Linked DNA regions of Homo sapiens: regions 2, 3, 4, 5, 6 and 7 are each linked to region 1. Evidence: promoter capture Hi-C in 16 types of primary human blood cells and fetal thymus (Javierre and others, 2016). All regions are on one chromosome and are shown on one strand. The core of a region is centred on a gene start or on the middle of the fragment in contact, and the rest is flanking DNA. Distances in the headings are between cores, read along the strand shown. Region 1 holds the start of CGA (glycoprotein hormones, alpha polypeptide). Region 2 overlaps RNGTT (RNA guanylyltransferase and 5'-phosphatase). Region 3 overlaps RNGTT (RNA guanylyltransferase and 5'-phosphatase). Region 4 overlaps RNGTT (RNA guanylyltransferase and 5'-phosphatase). Region 5 overlaps RNGTT (RNA guanylyltransferase and 5'-phosphatase). Region 6 overlaps RNGTT (RNA guanylyltransferase and 5'-phosphatase). Region 7 overlaps RNGTT (RNA guanylyltransferase and 5'-phosphatase).

Region 1 (3,298 bases), core at 584-3,083:
AACTTGGAGTCACACATGGATCATGCTGTTTCAGTTATCTTGTCTAATTTGATTTCTAACATTGTTATTGATTCTACCCCTAAGTGCCCCACCTTAAACCACAGAGTGTTAAAGATGCTGGATCATTTCTACAATGTTATCTCTAAGCCTGGTGAACCAAGAAATTGCTAGACTACTTTGTGCAACATTACAATGGCACTGCTGTAACATTATATGCCAAATCCAGAATGTGCAAAGATCAGAAGTTGATAGCAAACTACTCTAGGATTCACAACCTGTAAAAATGAAGTTTGGTGCTATGAACCATGCTGTTCTCAAAAGAAATGTAAGTTCACTCCTGTAAATTTTCTCTTTGAGAAAGTAGATTACTTTGATGTGCTTTTAAGCAAGACGTACATTACCTTCTAAGTTAGCCATTTCTGTTACCCAGCTCTTACTTTGAGTTTTCATGTAAATTTGGGTCTCACATTAAAAAGAAATGTACACTGCAACTGAAAATCTGCTCTGGAACATAATTAATTGCTTTTCTAACATTTTTCTCACACACTACCCTTTTCAGCAGGAAATGGTAAGGAATATGACTCACTTAAAATTTCAATGACTCTTACTGCAAAAAAAATAATAAACTTAAGAAAACCAAAGTTGAAATTAACATGAAAAACCACGAACCTTTTATAAATGATGACCACTCTTGTCTTTTTTAAATAATTCAAGAATATAGCAATGTATTACATGCAATTTGGTTGACCAATATTATGAATAATTGAATTGGTATTAAGTCAAGTAATTATTTAAAAGATATTTTCAGAAACTTTAAAAGATTCCTTTTCTAAAGCAAAATATCTGACTTTTGACTGGGAAAAAGATTGAAGAGCTTAAGAAACAAAATATCTACAGAGATGAAAGGGAGCTTCTGCATTCCTAAGGGACCCATATAGTGTCAGCCCATAGTTCTTCACACGTGCCCATAGCCTATTCTTCAACGCTAATAAGGAGGGACAAAAAAGGTCTTTTATTTTCTAGTGTCTATTTCCCAATCAGCCACCAATTAATGCTAATGCTAAGATAACCAAGGTTAGCTGCAAAAAAGTTTCCAGAAACTCATTGGAACTAATCAATTAGACTTGGGCAAGTGACTTATCATTGCAAATTCATGAATAATAGCTAGAGAAATACTACCAACTTTGATTTTTGTAGCATTTTATTAAAGAAGAAAAATGAAAACAACGACATTCAAGAAATTCCATGCTACTATTCAAGTCTGCATGAGAACATCTATTCAAAAGATAATCAGAAGCTATAGTCATTCAGCTGAACAAGTGAACCACTTTATCATGGGCCAGCTTGAAGATATAGCTATACATCACTTAAAAATGGATAATAAAACAATATCATAATGTCTACTTGCCCTCTGTCTGGCTCCTGGAAGCCACTCAAAAGAACGTCTTTCCAATGACATACAGTAATTCTTGAGGAAAATTTTTAGATCCTGACAGGCACTCAAGCATCTCAGCAGGAGACATTGGGTTTCTGGCTTCTGTTAGATAACATCTTACCCTATGATCACAGCCAAATTTTACAGACTTCCTTCTAATTCAATCATAAGTGCTGAAAAGAGAATGAGTAAAAGCCTGTCTCAGTTCTTATTAAGGTATATGCAGAGACTTTGGAATCTTCCTCATATTCTCAAATATTTTACTCCTCAATTAAAGTCCCCCAAAATTATTTCATTCATATTACCTTTCTCTGGGCTTTTTGCAGGATGTGTTCAGGGCGGTTGACTGTGGATCCGAAGAGGGATTTTAGCTTCGTCTTATGAGTTCTCAGTAACTGCAGTTAATGAAGTCCTCACCTGCTTTTATACCAGCAGAGTGTTTCCACCTGCATCTAAGCCCTGGGATCAACAGGAAATTCCATCCAATGATTGAAGGGTACTTGGTGTAATTACCATGACGTCAATTTTTACCATGACGTCAATTTGATCTTATCTTGTTTCAACCCTTAGGTCATTTTTGTTTGGAGCCATTTTCAGGTGATGGTGACGACAAGGTCAGCCCATGAAAAGAGAGTACGCTGTCACTTTGTACGTAATTTTATTGAGCCATACACATAACATCCTGAAAGCTGACACTTTCCTATAAACAAGAGACATTTAATTAGCTAAGTACCTGATATTTACCTAAACAAGAGCTATAGATTTCCGAAAATAGATATAGAGCATTTCCAGGCTTATACCACTATTTAATTAGGAAACAGAAAAATAAAACACACACCTATTTAGACTTTTCTAAAATTAATTTGCATCTGAATTTAATAAAGATGCATGAGAAAGGTATGAGGCAATTCTAAGAAGGACTGAATGGTTCTCAATATACGTGCCTGGTTTTTGGTTTTTTTTTTTTTCTCATTTCACTTTTGTAAAGCTCAGTTTCTGCCTGAACAGAAAATATGTATGTCATGGCTTGCCAGGTGTGGGACACTTAGCTCCAAGGTTCCCAACCCAGTGTCACCCTAAAACCTGCACAGCTCTTCAGACTACTGTGGCTTCTTTTTTGCACACAGAGATTATGACCCTTCAAAAGTTCCTATCTTTATCTACTCCGCTCAGTGCCACTTCCGTAAGGAACTGGCTTAGATACAGACTACCAAGGACCTCTTCAACAAAGAGTTTAGAAGATCTATGTGATGCAAAAAGCAATTCTTGTTTAACATAAAGAAACTTGCCAAAGAACGCAAAGTTGTTTTGTGATTTATTTTCTGTGATAAACAAATTTGTTTAGGTTCTTACACCTTTTCAGATTTCCGTTGTTTCCTTCCAGTATGCATCCCAACCATTCACCTTTTCTTAGTGATGCTCCTTTTTGGGGGACGAGTGGGGGAGACGGAATCTCGCTCTGTCTCCCAAGCTGGAGTGCAGTGGCACAATCTCACTGCAGTCTACACCTCCCGGGTTCAAGCACTTCTCCTGCCTCAGCCTCCGAGTAGCTGGGACTACAGGTGTGCGCCATAATGCCTGGCTAATTTTTGTATTTTTGGTAGAGACAGGAGTTTCACCATGTTGGCCAGGCTGGTTTAACCCCTGACCTCAAGTGATCCACCCACCTCGGCTTCCAAAAGTGCTGGGATCACAGGCATGAGCCACCGTGCCGGGCCTTCCTAGTGATGATTGATGCCACCATTATTCAAGAATTTCTACATTTAAATATCAACCAACTGGCAGTATATTTTCAATGTAGCAGACTTATTTTGAAAATCTTTCCATCTAGGCATTTCACTCTTCTTTGTTCTATTCTTTCTC
Region 2 (3,298 bases), core at 474-2,973, 1.8 Mb after region 1:
GGGCTCAAGAGATCCTTGGCCTTGGTCTTCTGGGATTGTAGGCATGAGCCACCACACCTGGCCCACAATTTTATTTCTATCTCACTAGCTAGATAAATTTTTTAATGCTAAAAATCCTAATTATTTGATCAGTCTAATTAGGTCAGTAGTTCTTTTTTTTTTTTTTTTTTTTTTTTTTGAGACGGAGTTTTGTTCTTTTTGCCCAGGCTGGAGTGCAATGGAGCAATCTCGGCTCACTACAACCTCTACCTCAGCCTCCTGAGTACCTGGGATTACAGGCATGCGCCACCACGCCTGGCTAATTTTGTATTTTTAGTAGAGACAGGGTTTCACCATGGTGGTCAGGCTGGTCTCAAACTCTGACCTCAGGTGATCCACCCGCCTCGGCCTCCCAAAGTGTTGGGATTACAGGCGTGAGCCACTGCACCGAGGATTCAGTAGTTCTCAACTGGGGAAGATTTTGCCCCCCAGGGGACATTTTGTAATGTCTAGAGACAATTTTAATTGTTACAATTTGTGGGATGAAGTTGAAGTCCAGCCTGAACAACATAGCCAGACCTGGTCTCTAAAAAATTATTTAATATAATACAATAAAGGCAAAAAAAATTAATGCAGTTGTTCCTCAGACTCCTCAGGGGATTGGTTCTGGGATCCCCCTCAGATACCAAAATCCTCCGATGCTCAGTGCTCAAGTGCCTTGTATAAAATGGCATAGTATTTGCATATGACCTATGAACATCCTGCCGTTTTCTTTGAATCACCTCTAGGTATTACTTATAATACCTAATGCAATGTAAGTGCTATGTGAACAGTTACTATACTGTATTTGTTGTTTTGAAAAAAGCAGGTTATTTATATGGTACAGTATGCAGCTATTATTTAACAGAACAATATTATGAGATATACATGAAATATGTTAAGGATGTGTGTATATATATTCATACATTTATATGAATATATATAACAGTCACACATACATACACATATATTGAGGTATATGACTAGAACCTACACAGCTTAAGGTAATACTGAGGCCTTTATCTGAATAAGTAAAAACAACTCACAGAAGTGTTTTCTCATTTGAGAGAAGCCATTATAGGGGTAAACATTAAATATGCTTAATGAATTCAAAGGAGGGCAGTCAAGCAATTTTAACCTCTGGCATTAGATGTCATGATTTTAGAAAGATTCATACTCCAGGTTTAGGAAAACAAATTCATCCTTGTTATAAATTGTGCAGTTGTATTCTTAGAAGAACTGATAAGAAAAACTTCTAATTGTTTTGAGTGTTTACAGGTTATAAAATTTATAGAACCTAGTGATATATATATATTTTGTTTTATATTCCCGGCAGTGATTCTGTTCATGTGGATTGAATTGGAAACATTTGCTTTGGGCCTGCCAAATTTTGGAGCACAGGATGTATTGCCAGTTATTTCTTATAGTATTACTGTAGAGACAATAACAGAAACTAGTCTCAGAACTGATTGCTGATAACACCTTTCTAAATAAAAAGCACTAAAGAATCAAGCTTAAGTAGTCTTAGGATCTGAAAATACTGTCCTGCTTTTATAGTACTTTCATTTATTTTTAGTTTCAGAGAAGGAATTTTTATCAGCCTTGCACAAACTCTTGCTGATCAATATTTGTGACCAGTAGTAAACATTTGTGATGTGGCAAAGGTTAGACTCAGGTTTCTTTTCAAAGCTGTCTTGGTTTTAAAAAAAAATCCCAGCCTGGGTGACATAGTGAGACCTGGTCTTTAAAAAAAAAAAAAGTAATCTTTGAATTAGCTGATATAATTGTTAATTTATCAATTACAGTTGACAACTGATTCAGTTATCAGTTGATAATTGGTGAGGCTGTGGGCTAATGCTGTAGGCTTCATGGAAATATAAAGTTCTTGAAACACACAGAAGCTTGAAACCTTTTCTAATCCTTAGCAGTAACTACAGCTTCATAGTCCCTTATCTGAAACCCTTAGAACCAGATGTTTTCAATTTTTACCATACTGTTAGCTTCTCTGGGGCAGTACTCTCAAATTTTTTTTTTATTATGGAAATTTGCAGACATACCCAAAGCAGTGAGAATAGAAAAATGAAACCTCATGTATCCATCATCCCTCTTTGGTAATTATCATTTTGCTGATTTTTTTTCATCCTCCACCCTTAATAATATTTTTGGAGTAAATTGGCCTTCCTATATCTGTATTAAAAATATTTGGGAAAAAACTCAATAAAAAATACAGTAAAAAATAATACAAATTTAAAAATACAATATAGTAACTGTTCACATAGAACTTACATTGTATTAGGTATTATAAGTAATACCTAGAGGTGATTCAAAGAAAACGGCAGGATGTTCATAGGTCATATGCAAATACTATGCCATTTTATACAAGGCACTTGAGCACTGAGCATCAGAGGATTTTGGTATCTGAGGGGGATCCTAGAACCAATCCCCTGAGGAGTCTGAGGAACAACCACATTAATTTTTTTTTTGCCTTTATTATTATTATATTAAATAATTTTTTAGAGACCAGGTCTGGCTATGTTGTCCAGGCTGGACTTCAACTCCCAGGCTCAAGCAGTCTTTCCACCTTAGCTCCCAAGTAGCTGGGACTACAGGCATGTGCCACTGGGCCCAGCTCTTACTATTATTTTTAATTTATACATAATAACTGTATTATAAATATATAAATACATATTTATGGGGTAGAGTGTGATATTTCAATACATGTCTACAATGTATAAAGATCAAATCAGAGTAATTAGCATTTTAATGACCTTAAACTACATTTTAGAGCAAGTCACAGACATGTCATGTCACTAAAAATGTTTCAATACACATCTCTAATAAGGACTCTGGGTTTCATATGATTACCATGCAATAATTATACCAAAAGAAGAGTTATAAATTCCTTAACGTCATCTAGAACCTAGTTTGTTTTTAGATTTCCTCAATTACCTTAAAAAAAAATTTTTTTTTTTGAGATGGAGTCTCGCTCTGTCACCCAGGCTGGAGTGCAGTGGCGCAATCTCGGCTCACTGCAAGCTCCACCTCCCGGGTTCATGCTATTCTCCTGCCTCAGCCTCCCAAGTAGCTGGGACTACAGGCGTCCGCCACCACGCCCAGCTAATTTTTTGTATTTTTTTATTAGAAACAGGGTTTCACCATGTTAGTCAGGATGGTCTTGATCTCCTGACCTTGTGATCCACCCGCCTCGGCCTCCCAAAGTACTGGGATAAAGTTAATGTTTCAAACCAGGATCCAACAATACCTACAAACTGCATTTTTT
Region 3 (3,298 bases), core at 451-2,950, 1.8 Mb after region 1:
CAGTCAGAGAGTCTAAACTAGTAAAACCCTCTATCCTTTGTGTATTGAAAGATATTGCCCTACATTCATCAAAAAAAGTTGGTCTTTCTGACTATTCTAACCTCTATCATTATATTGGTAACATCAACATCCATTGAAATAACTCGACCTGTTGTACAACCTTTACAATAGGTCATCTCATTTACAATGACCCTCATCTTTGTCCAACTGGAACATCCTGCTCCATGGCACTACCACAATCATTTCAAACCACTCTACCTTTTGATTCAATACAACTCACATTGATTGAGTGCCGACAGCATTCTAAAACTAACATGTCACTATAAACTCTTTTACTGTCACTCTGCTCACTTTTCAATTTCACCAAGACTAACAGTCCCTTCATTTCTCCTTTACATATTCTAACAGCACCCTCATCCTGACCTTACTTCCTATTCAGCCTAGAACCTATGGCTGATTACTTCAATTATTTTTCCTCTGACAGCCTCAGTGCCCCTTACCCTCTTGTTCTTCATCACACCCAAACTGAATTTCTCCAGCCTTGAGTCAACCTACCGTTAGTCTTTTCCACTCTCATACATAGGCAGCTGAAACTTACTGAGGAAAAAATCACAATCTCAATTACATCTCCAGTACTAAGAAAGATATTTCCCTCCTATTGCTGAAGACCTATTACTCCAAAAACTGCATTTGACCTCCATTCCCTTGCACTTCCTCAGAGATTTCTCTATCATTATTCCCCAAATCTTTACTTTCAACTTCATTGACTTCACTAGCTCCTTATCCACACTAATAAATATGCTTGAATTTATCCCATACTAAAAAGCCTTTTCTGACTATGTCTGCATCAATTACCCTTCTGCTCCTTTTTTTATCATAACCAAGCCACTTGAATGAATAGTTTATAGTAGTGTGCAGAAAAGGGTTAACCTAACACTAGTGCTTGCAAAGTTGGCTCCTGAATGGCACCTGAGAACTTGACTTTTGGAGTGTTCTCAGTCAACTGATAAGGATGGCTCACCAAACCTAGATTACTTGTCCCAAAAATACAGTTTATGCTGAATAAATTTTTTTCCTCCTGGAATCCTGGAATTTTGCTACATGCTAAGCACAGAGTGCCTACATGACCGGCCATCAATAAAAATCTTGAGCAGTGAGAGTGTAATGAGCTTCCATGGACAGAAACATCACAAATACATTGCTGCAGGAAGAGTGAGCTCAGGATGACCCCTCATGAGAAAAAGAGAGCACAAGAAAGCCTACACATTAACTCCCCCCAGACTCTACTTGTCTTTGTCTCTTATGATTGAGCTGTATATCCTTAGTACGTTGCTGTATAAATCTGAGTTATGAGTACAACCATATGCTGAGTCCTGAGTTATTCTAATAAATCTCCAGAAGTGAGGGTGGTACAGGGAACCCCTAACACAACTCAGTCTCCACTTTCTCGCCTTCCATTAGCTTCTTAAAATTACCAGTCTGACCCAGCCCTACTGCACCACAGAAAATAATCCTCAGATAAATACTTTCCGTCCTTATTGAATTTTGTCCTCTCCATGAAATCATACTGTTAAATTGCTCCCTTTAAGTTAATTCTAAACTATTTCTCATATTTTACATTTCTTTTGTCTTTTCATGCTGCATGCTGGAAGGATTTCATAGCTAGATCCTCTAGCTTGATAATTTCATTCTGCTACTCATCCCACATACTAAGTGGTTTTTTAATCTTATCATTTCCAAGATCTCTAATTTGTTCCTCTTCTTAATAGCCTGCTATTATTTTATGGATTGATAGCCTCTCTTGTCTTCTAAAGAAAGGTTCTATTTGCTTTCTCAAATAGAAAAATTTTTAATTTTTCCTTTCTTAGTATATCTAGTATTACTTTTATATAGGACTTAATTTTTACAATATATAATTTTTAGTATATATACTGTGTGTGTGTGTGTATATATATATATTATATATATGTATCTCCCCAGTATATATTCTTCTACACTAAGTTATTCTTCTATACTATGTTTTCTGTGCATATGCAAAGAAATAACCAAAAAGTACAGAGCAAATGGCTTGGGAATGAAGAAATATTTTGCCTTTTAACTCTATATACTCCTAGATGTTTGCATTTATATTTTACAAAAAAAAAAAAACTCATCTTTAAGTCATCTGTGTATGTTTTAAAGCTAAATAAATAAGTAAATAGGGAAAAATTATTCTAAAAAGACAACAATACCAATGGTAGTATGAAAGTTGAAGGATTATAAGTTTTCTTTCGTTTTCAAACTTTCTTTAATAAACTAAAGATTAATGTTCTTTCATCTTTAATATATTACTTATATGAGTAAAATATTTAATAATTTTAGGATTTACTAATTATGGTTTGAAAAAAGAAAAAACTACCAAAAGGCATAAGGTTTTAGAACTTTTTTTTTTTCCTAATTCGGCCTTTGGAGGTATAAGCACAAATATTCTCAAAAATCACCAACTCATAACAGAAATCAAGACTAATTGCTTTCTCCAAAAAGAGAGAAAGAAGGTTTCGGCTTTTTTTTTTTGAGACAGCCTATCACTCTGTCACCTAGGTTGAAGTGCAGGTGAATGCAGTGACATGATCACAGCTCACTGACTGCAGTCTCAACCTCCCAGGCTCAAGCAATCCACCCCACCTCAGCCTCATAAGTAGCTGAGACTACAAGTGCACACCACCACACCTGGCTAATTTTTTAATTTTTTGTAGATACGAGGTCTCACTACGTTGCCCAGGCTAGTCTCAAACTCCTGAGCTCAAGCAATCCTTCCGCCTCGGCCTCCCAAAGTGCTGAGATTACAGGTGTGAGCAACTGCACCCAGCCTAATTAGACTAACTTTGTAGCCACAAAAAAAAAAGCTGGACAATGTTAAAGAATTCATTTGAAGACCTCAGAGAATTAGAAAGGCAATAAGGACTTGAAGGGCCAAAAACTCAGGAGGAAGGGAGGCCAGAGAGGTGAGCTAGACATCTTCTACAGCTTTTCCTTTCTAGTACTCTCCTCTAGAGGCACTGTTTCAAAAATGGTAGCTAAGACACTAAGAAGCTGAACAGAAATTTCAGTAATATCACAGCAATGGGAAATAAAAGCTGGAGTTACAGGTCTTCAAGTGGAAGGAGTCCAATTTAATTCCCCACACTTTCAATGAAGATCCTCACAGGCTATAGGAATAAGAGCAGAGCAAAAATAGACCACTGCCCCAAAACTAAAGTCTAGTTTCTAACAGCTCAATCCTTAATTAAGATATTCTGCTCCTAATTCTCTGTAGAAG
Region 4 (3,298 bases), core at 294-2,793, 1.8 Mb after region 1:
TAATCCATCTTCATGAAAAGAAAAGATCAAAAGAATTTTCCCAAAAGTTTTATTTTACATTTGTCCCTGACTCGCTGATTACTTTCAGTTTTCTTTTGTATAAAGCATGCATTCTAGAAAAATCAACTATAATTATTTCAAACAATTTTTCACAGATTCACAAAGAGGATAAAGTTTTTTCCCCTTTTTTATCCAAGCCAGCATTTGCCACTTCCATAATCACACATAATGAATAAGAGTATGTGAGCAAATAATGAGTTAAGAAAGTATCACAGAATCGTAAAAAAAAAAAATATGAAAATCCAGTTAACACCTCATCTAACAGATAAGCTCTACTGCTGAGATGGGTCAAAGCAAATGTTCTTCCATCTGGTCAGCAGCACTACTCAATACTAAATATCAATATTCAATACTAAATATATCTTACTTATTTCCTATATAAAATTTAAAAATCCATCTATGAACACCCAATATCACACTCTTAAAATCAAAACAAGCAGTCATATTTCATATACAGTATCAAGTAATGCTCTTTATTAGCTCTTTAGTATCTCTTACTTAGTTGTCTGGTACTATACATAGTTTTGTTATATCTCTTACTACATCTTAAATTGTACTTCATTTTCCTGCTGAGAGTAGGAATTGTACTTTTACTTTCCTCTAGTGTCTTGTATTGTCTTTGAGACCTTCTAAAGCTTACAGTAGCTTAACAGTTATCTATTAAAGCAGTAAATATTGTCTGCAAATATATTTATTATCCCATTAAGTGAAAGGAGCAATGCAATTTGAATTACCATCACAAAGCAATTTGAAAAAAAAATAATAGAGTTTTTCTATTATTTATTTATAAGAGAACAGCCTATATCATATCCCATTATATGGAGGATCAGAAAGTAAGGAAAGAAAACAGCAGGTAAGAAGATGAAGGTATAATGTCTCGAGAAACCAAACATCCAACTCTTAATATTGATTATCCCAAGGGGTGGGATAAAAGTTCTCACAGGGAGAACTTTTTAATTTCTTTTTAATGTTTTATGAGGAAGACAGAAGACATTATCAGAAAAAATATATTTTAAGACAGAAAAATTCATCTATTAGCATAAAACAGTAAAAATAACTATCAAAATATTGAAAAAATAATGAGGACATGACCTGGCAAAAAGGATTCTGGGCTCTGGGGCCAGATCACTTGCATTCAAATCTCAGTCCTGCTACTTACAATAACTGTGTCTGTGACCTTGAAAAAGCTACTTATTCACAATGCTATCTTACAGCGTTGTGAGTATTAAATGAGATAAATGTTCTATGTAAAGTACTCAGAACAATGCCTAATACACATTAAGTGTTCAACAAGTATTACTTGTTATAACTGTTGCTATAGCCAAAATACAGAATGAACTTGTGCAACCACACTAGTATTCAAAAAAAACTGCTAATCAAAGCAATTTTAAAATTCATTTTCCTTTAATTTTTACATCAATAAAATCTTTTAAGAAAAAAATTCATTTTCCAATTGTCAACTTGGCTACATTACTTATATTAAGTGAAACTACCCCAAATTGCCAAGGATGTACACTCAAGCACTGCTGTTCGGAGTGTATCACTACAACCTCTAGCAAGGTATATCAAGGACTTCAAAGGTTTCCATACTATATCTAAGTAATACTATTTTTGTCAAAATTTATGCAAAGATGGGTATAAGAAGATCAGTACAGTTATTTATAGCAACAAAAAAACTGGAGTCTAAATGCCCCTATAATCGAGGGTGAACTATTTTTTCTTGGCAGCAATTAAGTCATTTTAAAAATACATGTTATAACAATGAAATATACTCATGTTAAGATAAAAAGCAGCATACAAAAATAATCATGCCTGAGTATTGTGGCTCAGGCCTGTAATCCCAACACTTTGGGAGGCCAAGGCAGGCAGATCACTTTAGCCCAGGAGTTTGAGACCAGCCTGGACAACACGGGGAAACCCTATCTCAACAACAAAAAAAAGACAAAAATTAGTTGGGTGTGGCGGCACGCGCCTATAGTCCCAGCTACTCTGGAGGCTGAGGTGGGAGGTCGAGGCTGCAGTGAGGCATGAGTGTGCCACTCCACTCCAGCCTAGGCAAAACAGTGAGACCCTGTCTCAAAAAACAATCATCATCATCATCATATAGTTTAGTTCTAATTACCTGCTAAGCCTATCATAGCTAGCACAATCTCTGGCATATGGTAAATGTTCAATAAATATTTGTTAACTACATGAATGAACAAAGAGACAAATTCAATCTCTTTATCCTGTATTCCTTGTTTCTCATTTGTTTGGGTCCAGTAGCCCAGCTCTATATAGGGGAAAAAATGTTTGAAAATATTAACGAAAAATTCATTTGTTTTAATCTTTCAAAGCTTCACATGTTTGCTGCCCCCAGAACCTGGCCAACTGAAAATTCTGAGTTAGGGTTGCACCTATGTTTGCAATCAAAGTTTTATCTGTATCTGCTCAGCTCTAAGAGTTCTCTAGCAGATTTTGGTAATAGGTAATAAATTTGGTTGGTTTTTATTTTTAAATACCATTTCAAAGACAGTATCTCTATTAACTAGTAGTAACTCTCATACTTAGGATTTGATTAAAGAAACTGCTATTTAAGGGACCTTTTTATCCTTTAGTAAATCCTAAAGATGTGACTACTAACCAATGGGTATTTCAAAGATTTGGTTTTAAAATGTTAGATTGTTTTGCCTTTGCTTAATTTTCTTCTTGTGCAATAACTATACCACACCCTAAAAGAATTCTGAGTGAACTCTGGGAAATCAATGTTGGTTCTCATGTAATAATGGTTTTCAAAACAGTCTTCAGTTATAACAACAATAACTAATATGCATTGAGTGCTGTATAATAAGCATTTTATGTGGGTCTCCACCAACTAACAGAGAAATTCTCAGATATGTTCTTAACTCAATAGCTGGCTAAATACTACTTTGAATTGGGTCACTGATTTTTAAATTTTGTTCCATGAGGCACTACAGATAGCGGCTCCCAAATCAGGTTAAAAATCACAAGTAATCGGGGTGCTTTTCAAAAATGCATTTTCTCAGAACCAATCCAGGCTTAATGAATTTGAATCTCTGAATTTTTTTTTAATAAAAGTTTCCTATGATGGTAGCGCAACTGGAAATGCTGCCCTAAAAAGTTCCATGGTAACCTCAGACGCCACACCAGAATGCAACCCCATATGCTTTCCTCAATTTGCAGCAACCAAAGCATTACTGCTTTTATCTGTTTCATATAGGGGGACTTAAAGAAAGAT
Region 5 (3,298 bases), core at 350-2,849, 1.8 Mb after region 1:
GCAGGTGTCTGGGGAGCAGATGGAGAGCTCAGGCCCTTGCTATAATAGCTGCAGCCCTAGTAGATGGGGAGTGTGGGGACTCAGGTTTCACTAGGAAAAATAAATTCAGCCTCAGTCTGGACTGACTGTGTATCTGAAAGACTCCTAGACCAAATGCCAGGCCAGCTGGCACACAGACAACAGGAATACTTAGTTCGCAAGACCCTCTGGCACATGCTTTTCAAAAGCAGCAATTCCTGGTGGATAGAGAGAATCTAAGCTACTTGGAAGAAGTAAGCTTTGCCTTGGATTATGTTTCAAAAGGAATTTAAATCAACAAAAGGGAAGATCAAATAAAAAGCAATGATGACATCATCTGCAAAAATGGCATGGAAGACACACAACCCATCATGTTGTTAAGGACTTAGGCTGGCATTTTGCAAAGCTGATATTCACCAAAAGGGTATTTCAAGGCAAATAAGTTAGGAAACCACTGTATCTTTCTCTTAGAACGTCAAGATATATATTAGGATATTTAAAGTTATGATAAAATATATAAATAAATCTGTTCATCTTATTTAGTCCATTGTTTCCTAAACTTAATCCTGATATCTGTTAAAATTTGACAGAATTGGTATTCTATACTTACAATTTGAGAAAAGCTGACTTAAGCTAATAAATGTTAGAATTCAGAAAAAAGAAATGGTTTACTCTTATGATCATGTAATAATGATAACTGAAATTATATTTCCCCTTTCACTGACTGCCCAGAAGTTGAGAATTTTAAATTTAATGTTTAAACACAATAGGTATTATCCCAGGGTGAAGATGTATTTATTTTACACACACACACACACACACATCTTAGTATCAGACCTTTTCTTTTAAATCAAGTAGAGTATCAATCAAAAGAAAATATTTTCTATGCACACATGTGTATAAACAGATTTAAAAGACTAAGGAAGAAAAAGCTTTAGAGGACGGGATTTACAAAAGGATAGCTTCTGCATCTGCAGAAACACCAGAGAAATTATTTAGCACTTGGTATTTAGGGATTCTTCTGCACACATAAATTTTCAGGCTTTGGAACACAAGTTCCTGAGCTATGATTTTTAGTTTGAACTCCAGTCATTCCAAATCATATGTTCTTTTGTTATGCGATACTAACAAAAAGTAAGGAGCTATTTCATGTAAGGAATGTGGAAATATTTCCACATCACTCCAAAGTCCCTGAAAGCAGCCAGATTCTTTAAAAAGAAGCAACTACCTCACAAACTGTCAGATACTGCCTTAGTATATAACTATGATGCAATATAATTTCTTATTAATTAGGAAATTATCTCAACTGCAAATTTAATATTCAGAATTATCAATAGGTATTTGTATTATATTCATTCATTCCCATTAAAAGGCAAAATTTAATTCAGTATACGTTTCCCAGATAGAAAATGCTAAAGTATATAAACCAAAGGTATATGGATTACAGAAAAGCCAGATGTATAGACTACTTTACTGTAAATGCAGGTTTTCTACCAAAACTGGAAATAATCTTTCAGAGCAGTTGCTGAGATGTGAGATATATAATTAAGTAAAACAACCAAATATACATTAATAAAATTAGGAAGTACATAATTAAAGAGAAGGAAAACTGACAGAAAACAATGGTAACTAATACCACCTTAGAGTCCTAATTCACATTCCTCCCAGTAGTCTGAGAGTAAAATGGTCGTTAAACTCCTGGTAATTTAAAGTTATCACCAATTTAGACCCAACTCTGATCATCAATTCAGGAATTTATCTTATACTCTATGAAGGCAGAAATCCTATCTATTTTGTTCCTTCTCACAGCTTAAGTATCTTGCACAGTCTACCTGAATACACACTAAAGGAAGGCACTCAATATTTGTTAAGCAAAGCTGTATGTACAACAAAGTTCATCATAATATTTTATAACAGTGAAAGGATAAAAACTCAAATGTCCATCATTCAGCAAATAGGTAAAATAAATATTGCATATTCATGTAAAAGCATACTAGTCAAGCATTTTTTAAACAATGATAAAAATATTCATTAATATGGAAAGAGATTTACAATATATTTAGTGGGAAAAAAGCAAGTTTAAAACCAGAATACATTAAATAATTACAGAGGAAAGGAGGAGGACAAAACTGTATGTATATCGTAAATATAGAGTAAAGCCTATACCAAAATAGTAAGAGCTGCCCCATCTCTATGTATTAGAATTATCAATGATATTTGCTTTCCTCATTAAGCTTTTCTGTACTTTCAAAATTTTTAGAAATAAACACAAATTGCTTTTAGACACAGGGGGCAAAATTAAAGCTTTACAAGGGGGAAAAAAGCCACCAAGCCAGAAATGTAGTCTATAATCAGACCCAGAGAAACATTTTCCCTTTGCAAAGTGGCAATGAATTAAGACAGGATTCTAACCCTTGTTCTTTGTACCACAGTGGCTTCAAAACAACAGATATTCCTCTTCTTCTGTCATACAGCCTCCATACTAGAGCATTTTGATGGGCAATAAAAACAGAAAAGCTGATCATTTACATTGATTTATTTCACCACCATCTCTATCTCTATCCATTTTTCCTAGCCCCTATCAAACTTATTATGGCTTTTCTCTTAAATTTTTTAATCAATTATTTTTTAAAATATAAGTTAAAGGGCCGACCTGGAGCCAGTCTAGATGCTAGGCAGTACTAGATGCTAGGGTTATAACAGCAAATGGCACAGACTCTCTTCTCAACTTCACATCATTTACACTCTTAAAAAGAAAACAAGATATTAAATAATTCCAACCATAATACATATTAGAACAGTGAAGAAGAAGCTATTACAGGAGCCTACAAAGGTAGAGCCTGTCAGAGTTTGGAGATCATGGAAGGCATTCCAGAGGAATTCATGCATAGCTGATAATAACAACAGGTTACACTTACTGAGCAATTACTATGTTCTGAAGAAAAGAGCACTTTTATTAACTCATTTATTAACTCATTTAATCCTTACAACAACCTCACCAGGTCAGTAAAATTATTATCCCCATTTTCCAGATGAGGAAACTGAGACATTGCCCAATGTCATAACGCTGACACAACGGCAACGCTGATATTAAAATTTAGACAATAGTTTGTTTGTACACCCTCTACAGTATACTAACCCTCACATTCAATATGTAGGAGTCAACCCAGCACAGGTTGTAATGTGAGAGAAGAAGAGAAATGAGGGATGGGAGGGTTGGAGTACACAGACTAGTAGGTGCAATGTCCTTCAGACAAGATAGAATGCAGCAATGTTCTGG
Region 6 (3,298 bases), core at 259-2,758, 1.7 Mb after region 1:
ACCATAAAAATATAAAAATTGAATATTAATTTGACCAAATATGTGATGTAATTACAATAGAATGACAGAAGGAGAAAGGGGTGTGGAGGGGGTTAGTGGAATTAGAGGGCTCAATCCTATTCTTCCACAGTACAAAGTAAGCAGATTATGTATAAAATACAAAACCAAAAAAGAACAGCATAGACTGTGTAGAACTGTAGAAGCAAAAGCCAAAAAAAAAAAAAAAAAAAAGAGGAAAATAATTGCCTCCTAGGAGTAGTACTCAGAGTGCAGAAAAAGGTAAGAGACTGTTTGGTAAGAGACTGTTCTATTTTTCAGCACAAATCACTCATTTAATTGGTTTTTTTAAATCATGGATAGGCATTACCATGGATTATGTGCAACTTACATAATTTTTTCAACAATAAAAAATATTACCTTCATTATTCTGAATATAAAAAATGAGAAAAATTGGCCGGGTACAGTGGCTCATACCTGTAATCCCAGCACTTTGCGAGGCTGAGGCAGGCGGATTGCTTGAGCTCAGGAGCTTTAGACCAGCCTCGGCAACAAGGCAAAACCCCGTATCTACGAAAAATACAAAAATTAGCAAGGCGTGGTGGTGCGCGCCTATAGTCCCAGCTACTTGGGGACCTGAAGTGCGAGGATTGCTTGAACCCAGGAGGTCGAGGCTGCAGTAAGCCATGTTTGTGCCACTGCACACCAGCCTGGGCAACAAAGTGAGACCCTGTCTCAAAAAAAAAAAAAGAGAGAAAAATGAACTGTAAGAAATAAGGTGGCAGAAATCCTCAAGAAGCAATTATACCTAGATCCAAAAGTATGCTTAAAAAATTATATATATCATGATCAAGTAGCATTTATCCCAGGAATGCAAGGATGGGTCAACATGAGAAAAATCAGTGTAATTTACTACATAAATGGTGTAAAAATGAAAATGACATGATAACCTTAGTAGATACCGAAGAGGCATTACTGCCTTAAAATTAATGCTTTAAAAGGTGTTAAAGCCCAAAACCTGTTTATGATTTTAAAAAGAATTATTGGAAGAACAGAATCAGAAATTTCTTAACACAATAAAGGATATCTAACAGAAATCTACCACAAACATACTTAATGGAGAAAATTTAGTTACATTCCCTTTGAGGTTGAGAAGAAGGTATAAATGTCTTCTCCCTTATCTAACTAGAACTAATACTTAATTCAATACTAGAGGTCCTGGTCAATGTGTAAAATTAGACAATGATGAGAACTAACAGAATTCAACAGGATTGTTGAATCAATAAAATAAATCAATAATGTGGCAGTGTACTAGAAGTAGCAATAAAAAAAGACACAATTTACCACAAAAGCAGAAAATGACAAATATTTAGAAGTTACCATAACAATAATAAAAAACTTAAACTCAGTTACAGAACAGAAAAAGACCTGAAAAAAAAAAGCCATAGCATTCATTGAGAAAGTGATTTAACATTGCAAACACATCAATTTTCTCCACGTTAATCTAAATTCAAAGATGTTCCAATTAAACTCCTAACAAAAATTTCTGGGTAGCATGACAAATTGATTCTGAAACTTTCACGTTAAACCAATTGTCAACAAATATTTAAGGTAATGCTGGCGAACAGGGAGACTTGACTTAATACCAGATATCAATTACAAAGTCATTGTAATAAAAAGTGTGGTTACGGCCCGGCGCGGTGGCTCACACCTGTAATCCCAGCACTTTGGGAGGCCAAGGTAGGCGGATCACCTGAGATCAGGAGTTCAATACCAGCCTGGCTAACATGGTGAAACTCCGTTTCTACTAAAAATACAAAAAATTAGCCGGGCATGGTGGTGCGCACCTGCAATCCCAGCTACTCAGGAGGCTGAGGCAGGAGAATCCCTTGAGCCCAGAAGGCAGAGGTTGCAGTGAGCCAACATTGCGCCATTGCACTTCAGCTTGGGCAACAAGAGCAAAACTCCATCTCAAAAAAAAAAAAAAAAAAAAAAAGTATGGTTACTAGAAAGGGAACGGAATGACAAATCAACTGCCTATACTAGACATCCAAGAAAGAGACTCACTTATTTGTCAGGCCATTTTTCCTACATATGCCATATATGTACAGATCTGAACCATGAGTTTCACACACTGAAATTTTCTGAATTTATTGTTATATTTAGACTTTGCTTCTTTCAGTCTAGGGAGACTGGAATATATTAGAACTAAAAGATTCAACTTTAATTTTCCTAAAATAGTATTTTCTTCCATTTCCGTCCCTAACCTCTAGTGCTCCTCCATGTCCTCCTCCCTCTCCTCCTCCCTTAACCACAGAAGATATTTCTGTTCTTTGTTTGGCAAGGGGGGCTAGAAGACAGACAGATGCCAATCACATATCACATTGTCTCTAAATTTGCATTTTAGCAGAGATTTATTACACACGTAAAGATATAATGCTTTACATGCATAGGTTGAATATGCCTTCTCTGAAATGCTTAGGACCAGAAGTGGTTTGGATTCTGATTTTTTTCAGATTGGGGAATATCTGCATTATATATACTTAACAGTTGAGCATCCCTAATACAAAAATCCAAAATGCTCCAACGAGCATTTCCTTTGAGCATCATGCTGGTGCTCAAAACATTATAAATTTTATAGCATATCAGTCTTTGAATTAGAGATACTCAACCTGTACAGTATTTAATACACTGTGTTCAAATTATTAGTTCCCTTTCTTTGACCCCAGGCACCCAGTCTGATGTCTCCATATATAAATTCTCAACTAGCTTATACTCTAATTACTAAAAGAAGAGTTGGTGAAGAAAAAAAGCAGCATATGATGAGGTGGTTGCACATGAAATAAACTCTTTCCTATAGAGTAAGTAGCTCTCATACTTGAACATGCATTAGAATCACTTGGAGAACTTGTCAAAACACAAACCGCTAAACTCCATCCCCAGAGTTTCTACTCAATAGGTGTGGGGCTGAGCTGCATCTGTGAAACTTCCTGGGTGGTGCTAATCCTCCTCTACAGGCCACATTTTGAAAAACACCGTCCTACAGAACATGGGTTATCAAGTAGGGCCAATTATGTTCTCTGAGGAAACTGGGCAATGTCAGACTATATTTTTGGTTGTCACAAATGGGAATAGGGAGCATGCTCCTGGCATCTATACTCCTGGCATCTAGTGAGTAGAGACCACAGATGCTGCTAAACATCCTACCATGCACAAGACAGCTCCCACAGCAAAGAATTATCTGGCCCAACACATCAGTGGTTGAGAATGAGAAAACCTGCTATAGAGTAAAATACAACTT
Region 7 (3,298 bases), core at 527-3,026, 1.7 Mb after region 1:
CATACATGCTTCAGGATAATCACAAATAAATCTCTTTAGAAAGTTTTTTTGGAATGTTGAAACTGCAACATTTTCCCATTGTCAACCCATTAGTGAAGAGAATCTGATAAAATATAGTCATTTTCCTAGTAAAGCTTATTTGACAGAAAAGTCACAGGCCTTTAAGTAACAGTGGCTCATTACAGTAGTAAAGGGTCAAAAAAAGTAAGGGGAGAAAGGAGTGTCAGCAAGAGAGAATAGGCCCAAGAAAAAGAGTAAGTTTGTGTAGCTTGAAACACACTATGCACATCCCACCGCATTTGCAACCTCTGCCAAGGAAATTTCATACTTACAGGCAAATCATCCTTTAGTTCCGTTTCCTACTTGTTTATAGTAAGTGACTACAAGAACACTTAGAAACCAATATCAATCTAAGTTATTAAATCTAGAAAAGTTGAATGATGGTATAGTTTTAAAATATCTCCTAATAGGTACCTAATGATAAATTCTAAAAAGCTTTAATATGTAATTTTATTTATATAACAGATATTAAATATCATTCACATTCTCTTGCCTGGAAATCAAGACTCAATTTTGTCTAATAAGAAAACAACATGTATCAACTCTTCTGTTTTTACACAGCAATAATTCAGAAACTTAAGTAACTCCTCATCTCATTGCACATCAAATCATTCATATTAATTTGGAATACTAGACTTGATATTATTAGGAATTTCAAAGCACCTTTATGAAAATTAATGATTATAAAATTTTAGAAAATGGGGCCAGGTGCAGTGGCTCACGTCTGTAATCCCAGCACTTTGAGAAGCCAAGGCGGGCAGATCACCTGAGGTCAGGAGTTCAAGACCAGCCTGGCCAACATGATGAAACACCATCTCTACTAAAAATGCAAAAATTAGCTAGGCATGGTGGTGCATGTTTGTAGTCCCAGCCACCTGGGGGGGCCAAGGCAGGAAAATTGCTTGAACCTGAAAGGCAGAGGTTGCAGTGAGTCAAGATCACACCACTGCACGCCAGCCTGGGCAATAGGGTGAGACTCTGTCTCAAATAAATAAATTAATTAATTAATCTAGAAAATGGTATTTTAAGAATACTGTAGCTCCCAGTTATTGAATGTAGATTCAACAATGACACAGATTCTATGAGTAAAATATATTGAAATACCCATTAGAATGTAATTCTACTTCAGAAAAAATCACATCAATTTTGTGCCTACAAAACACCTAGTAAAATGCTCAAATACTTTAATAAAATAATTAAAAATACAGAATTTCAAAACTTACTACAAAAATATCTGTCTCAGGTACACTTAATTTAAAAATGAAATATCTGAGATTATGAAATAAGCTAACAATATTTATGAAAGATTATATAAATCACTACCAAATAATCCCTTTTTCATGATCCCCAAAATAATAAGAGCAAATATATTACAAATACAGAAACTGAATAAGCCTTTTAGAAATAAATATTTATGATTTATCAAACTTGAAATACAGAATCTTGCTGAACTATAAACAAGGATATAAAAACACCATTCTACATGTTCTCGTGTATAGTCAGAGTAATATAATTCAATTTACCAGCATGTATCTAGGTTAAAATAATTATCAGAGCTATAGTTAACTGATAAATACAATACTTAGTTTATAGAAATAAATCTGATTGTATGAGGTGAGCTGTCAAAAAAAAACTGGGGATATGTTAGGTGTAAACGTAATTACCAATATAACCCAAGATATCCATTGCCATTGTAAAGTCAAAAACATAATAAATGTAAACGTCAGGCAGCAAAATAAGATGCTTAAGAAAGTGTTGACCAGATGAGAACAGAACCTGGCTTAGAGGTAGAAGATGGCCATATGCCAAAGAGAAGTCTGTAAAACTAAGGTGGACAGGAAGCTAACTGGAGGTATACATGATATATATTTGTGGTGTAAAGCACTGGTTCTCAACTAGGGGAGATTTTGCCTCCAAGGGATATTTGGCAATGCGTGGAGACATTTTTGGTTGAACAAGAGGTGGGGAGGGGGTGCTACTGCCATCTAGTGGTTAAAGGCTAGATATGCTACTAAACATCCTACAAAGCACAGGGCAGCTGCCCACAACAAAGAATTCTAGCCCAAAATGTCAATGGTGCCAAGGCTGAGAAAACCTGATGTAAATGAAGCTAGCATTAGTAACGGCAAAGGAGCAACGTATTTAGTCCCTCTTTGCCTCTACTAACGTAATTATTTTAAGCAAGTTCAAAGTGGGCTTTATCTATCTCATTTGTAAAAATGCAATAATAGCATTTTGCTTGCCTAAAACAGGATATCTAGACCAGAGATATCTAAAAACACCTTGCAGGCTTATGTTATTCTATTATTTCCACTAGTAAAATGTGAGTAGTTATCACCAGGTTCTACAGTAAAACCTGAGACATAATGCCTTCTTCACAAAGATCACATCTGAAGCTAAGAAAGATCCCTGTCCTTACTATAATATTAGTTTTATTACAGCATTTATTTTTAAAGAAAACTTTAGAAATCCTAGACAGTAATGCTACTAGAGACAGTAAAACAATGGAATCAATTATGAACGCACATTCTTCAAGAATCTATTATTTGTCTTTTCACTGTTACACATTATACAGCATCCACTCCTCTAAGACTCCAAATACACTTACAATGAAAATTACTCCCAAATCTTCATCTTTTGTCCTAACTTTCTCCCAAATAAAAGTATGCCAGGCACTGGCTTATTCATTAGTACCCTAAAGGCAGCCTAAAGTTTTAAATCTAAAACTGAATCATTTATATTCTTAAACAAAAAACTAGTTCATCTCCATTCTGATTTCCATTTCTGATTAACATAATGCTCCTAACCAGAAAGGTTCAAAACTCTCGAATCATCTTTGATGCGATCTCTACCAATTCCATATTCCACCAATTATCTCTATTACTTTTTCACCCAGGCTATTGTGATCAACCTAACTGTTATCCCTATTATCAACAGGCCCTATCAAATACAACTGATCCTGAATCCATCTGGTTAGATGGTTTACTGAAAATAATACAAGCTTCTCAACCTAACAACCAAAGACCACCTCCCCGTGCCCACTTACCTAGCCTTATTCATCCTCTCTAGTTTTATCCCCTACTATGCCCTTTACACAGAATAATTAAGGCAGCAATAACTTCTAAGGGCTAACATCGACTGAGTTTTTCACTTTTCACCAGTTACTGGTTTGAGTGTTCTTAAATCACTTTATTCTCAAAATAGCTCCATGAGGTAGTTCAATCTAACATAGTACCCT

Evidence for each region. Contacts are between HindIII fragments. The CHiCAGO score rates a contact against its expected background, and 5 or more counts as called.
Region 2: a contact is called between a fragment that was not itself captured here and the fragment with the promoter of CGA in region 1, in 1 of 17 cell types (total B cells). The highest score is 6.5, in total B cells.
Region 3: a contact is called between a fragment that was not itself captured here and the fragment with the promoter of CGA in region 1, in 2 of 17 cell types (total B cells and naive B cells). The highest score is 6.5, in total B cells.
Region 4: a contact is called between a fragment that was not itself captured here and the fragment with the promoter of CGA in region 1, in 3 of 17 cell types (naive B cells, total B cells and total CD4 T cells). The highest score is 7.7, in naive B cells.
Region 5: a contact is called between a fragment that was not itself captured here and the fragment with the promoter of CGA in region 1, in 4 of 17 cell types (naive B cells, total B cells, M0 macrophages and 1 more). The highest score is 7.6, in naive B cells.
Region 6: a contact is called between a fragment that was not itself captured here and the fragment with the promoter of CGA in region 1, in 1 of 17 cell types (total B cells). The highest score is 5.5, in total B cells.
Region 7: a fragment that was not itself captured here is called in contact with the fragment with the promoter of CGA in region 1 in 1 of 17 cell types (M2 macrophages); the score reaches 5.1 in M2 macrophages.

The regions. Positions count from the first base shown.
Region 1 is chr6:87,093,273-87,096,570 of GRCh38, forward strand. It overlaps CGA (glycoprotein hormones, alpha polypeptide), which reads right to left and starts at 1,834. Exons shown (of 4, transcript NM_000735.4): 1 at 1,741-1,834. The HindIII fragment of the contact is 11,698 bases long and covers 1-3,298 here.
Region 2 is chr6:88,919,556-88,922,853 of GRCh38, forward strand. All of the region lies in intron 4 of RNGTT (RNA guanylyltransferase and 5'-phosphatase), which reads right to left. Among named protein-coding and RNA genes, the nearest start is that of RNGTT, 42 kb to the right of the region's middle. The HindIII fragment of the contact is 388 bases long and covers 1,530-1,917 here.
Region 3 is chr6:88,896,728-88,900,025 of GRCh38, forward strand. All of the region lies in intron 6 of RNGTT (RNA guanylyltransferase and 5'-phosphatase), which reads right to left. Among named protein-coding and RNA genes, the nearest start is that of RNGTT, 65 kb to the right of the region's middle. The HindIII fragment of the contact is 3,959 bases long and covers 1-3,298 here.
Region 4 is chr6:88,874,377-88,877,674 of GRCh38, forward strand. The region is part of intron 8 of RNGTT (RNA guanylyltransferase and 5'-phosphatase); the gene reads right to left. Among named protein-coding and RNA genes, the nearest start is that of RNGTT, 88 kb to the right of the region's middle. The HindIII fragment of the contact is 1,701 bases long and covers 694-2,394 here.
Region 5 is chr6:88,855,598-88,858,895 of GRCh38, forward strand. The region is part of intron 8 of RNGTT (RNA guanylyltransferase and 5'-phosphatase); the gene reads right to left. Among named protein-coding and RNA genes, the nearest start is that of RNGTT, 110 kb to the right of the region's middle. The HindIII fragment of the contact is 1,302 bases long and covers 949-2,250 here.
Region 6 is chr6:88,797,731-88,801,028 of GRCh38, forward strand. All of the region lies in intron 12 of RNGTT (RNA guanylyltransferase and 5'-phosphatase), which reads right to left. Among named protein-coding and RNA genes, the nearest start is that of RNGTT, 160 kb to the right of the region's middle. The HindIII fragment of the contact is 4,929 bases long and covers 1-3,298 here.
Region 7 is chr6:88,778,949-88,782,246 of GRCh38, forward strand. The region is part of intron 12 of RNGTT (RNA guanylyltransferase and 5'-phosphatase); the gene reads right to left. Among named protein-coding and RNA genes, the nearest start is that of RNGTT, 180 kb to the right of the region's middle. The HindIII fragment of the contact is 2,566 bases long and covers 494-3,059 here.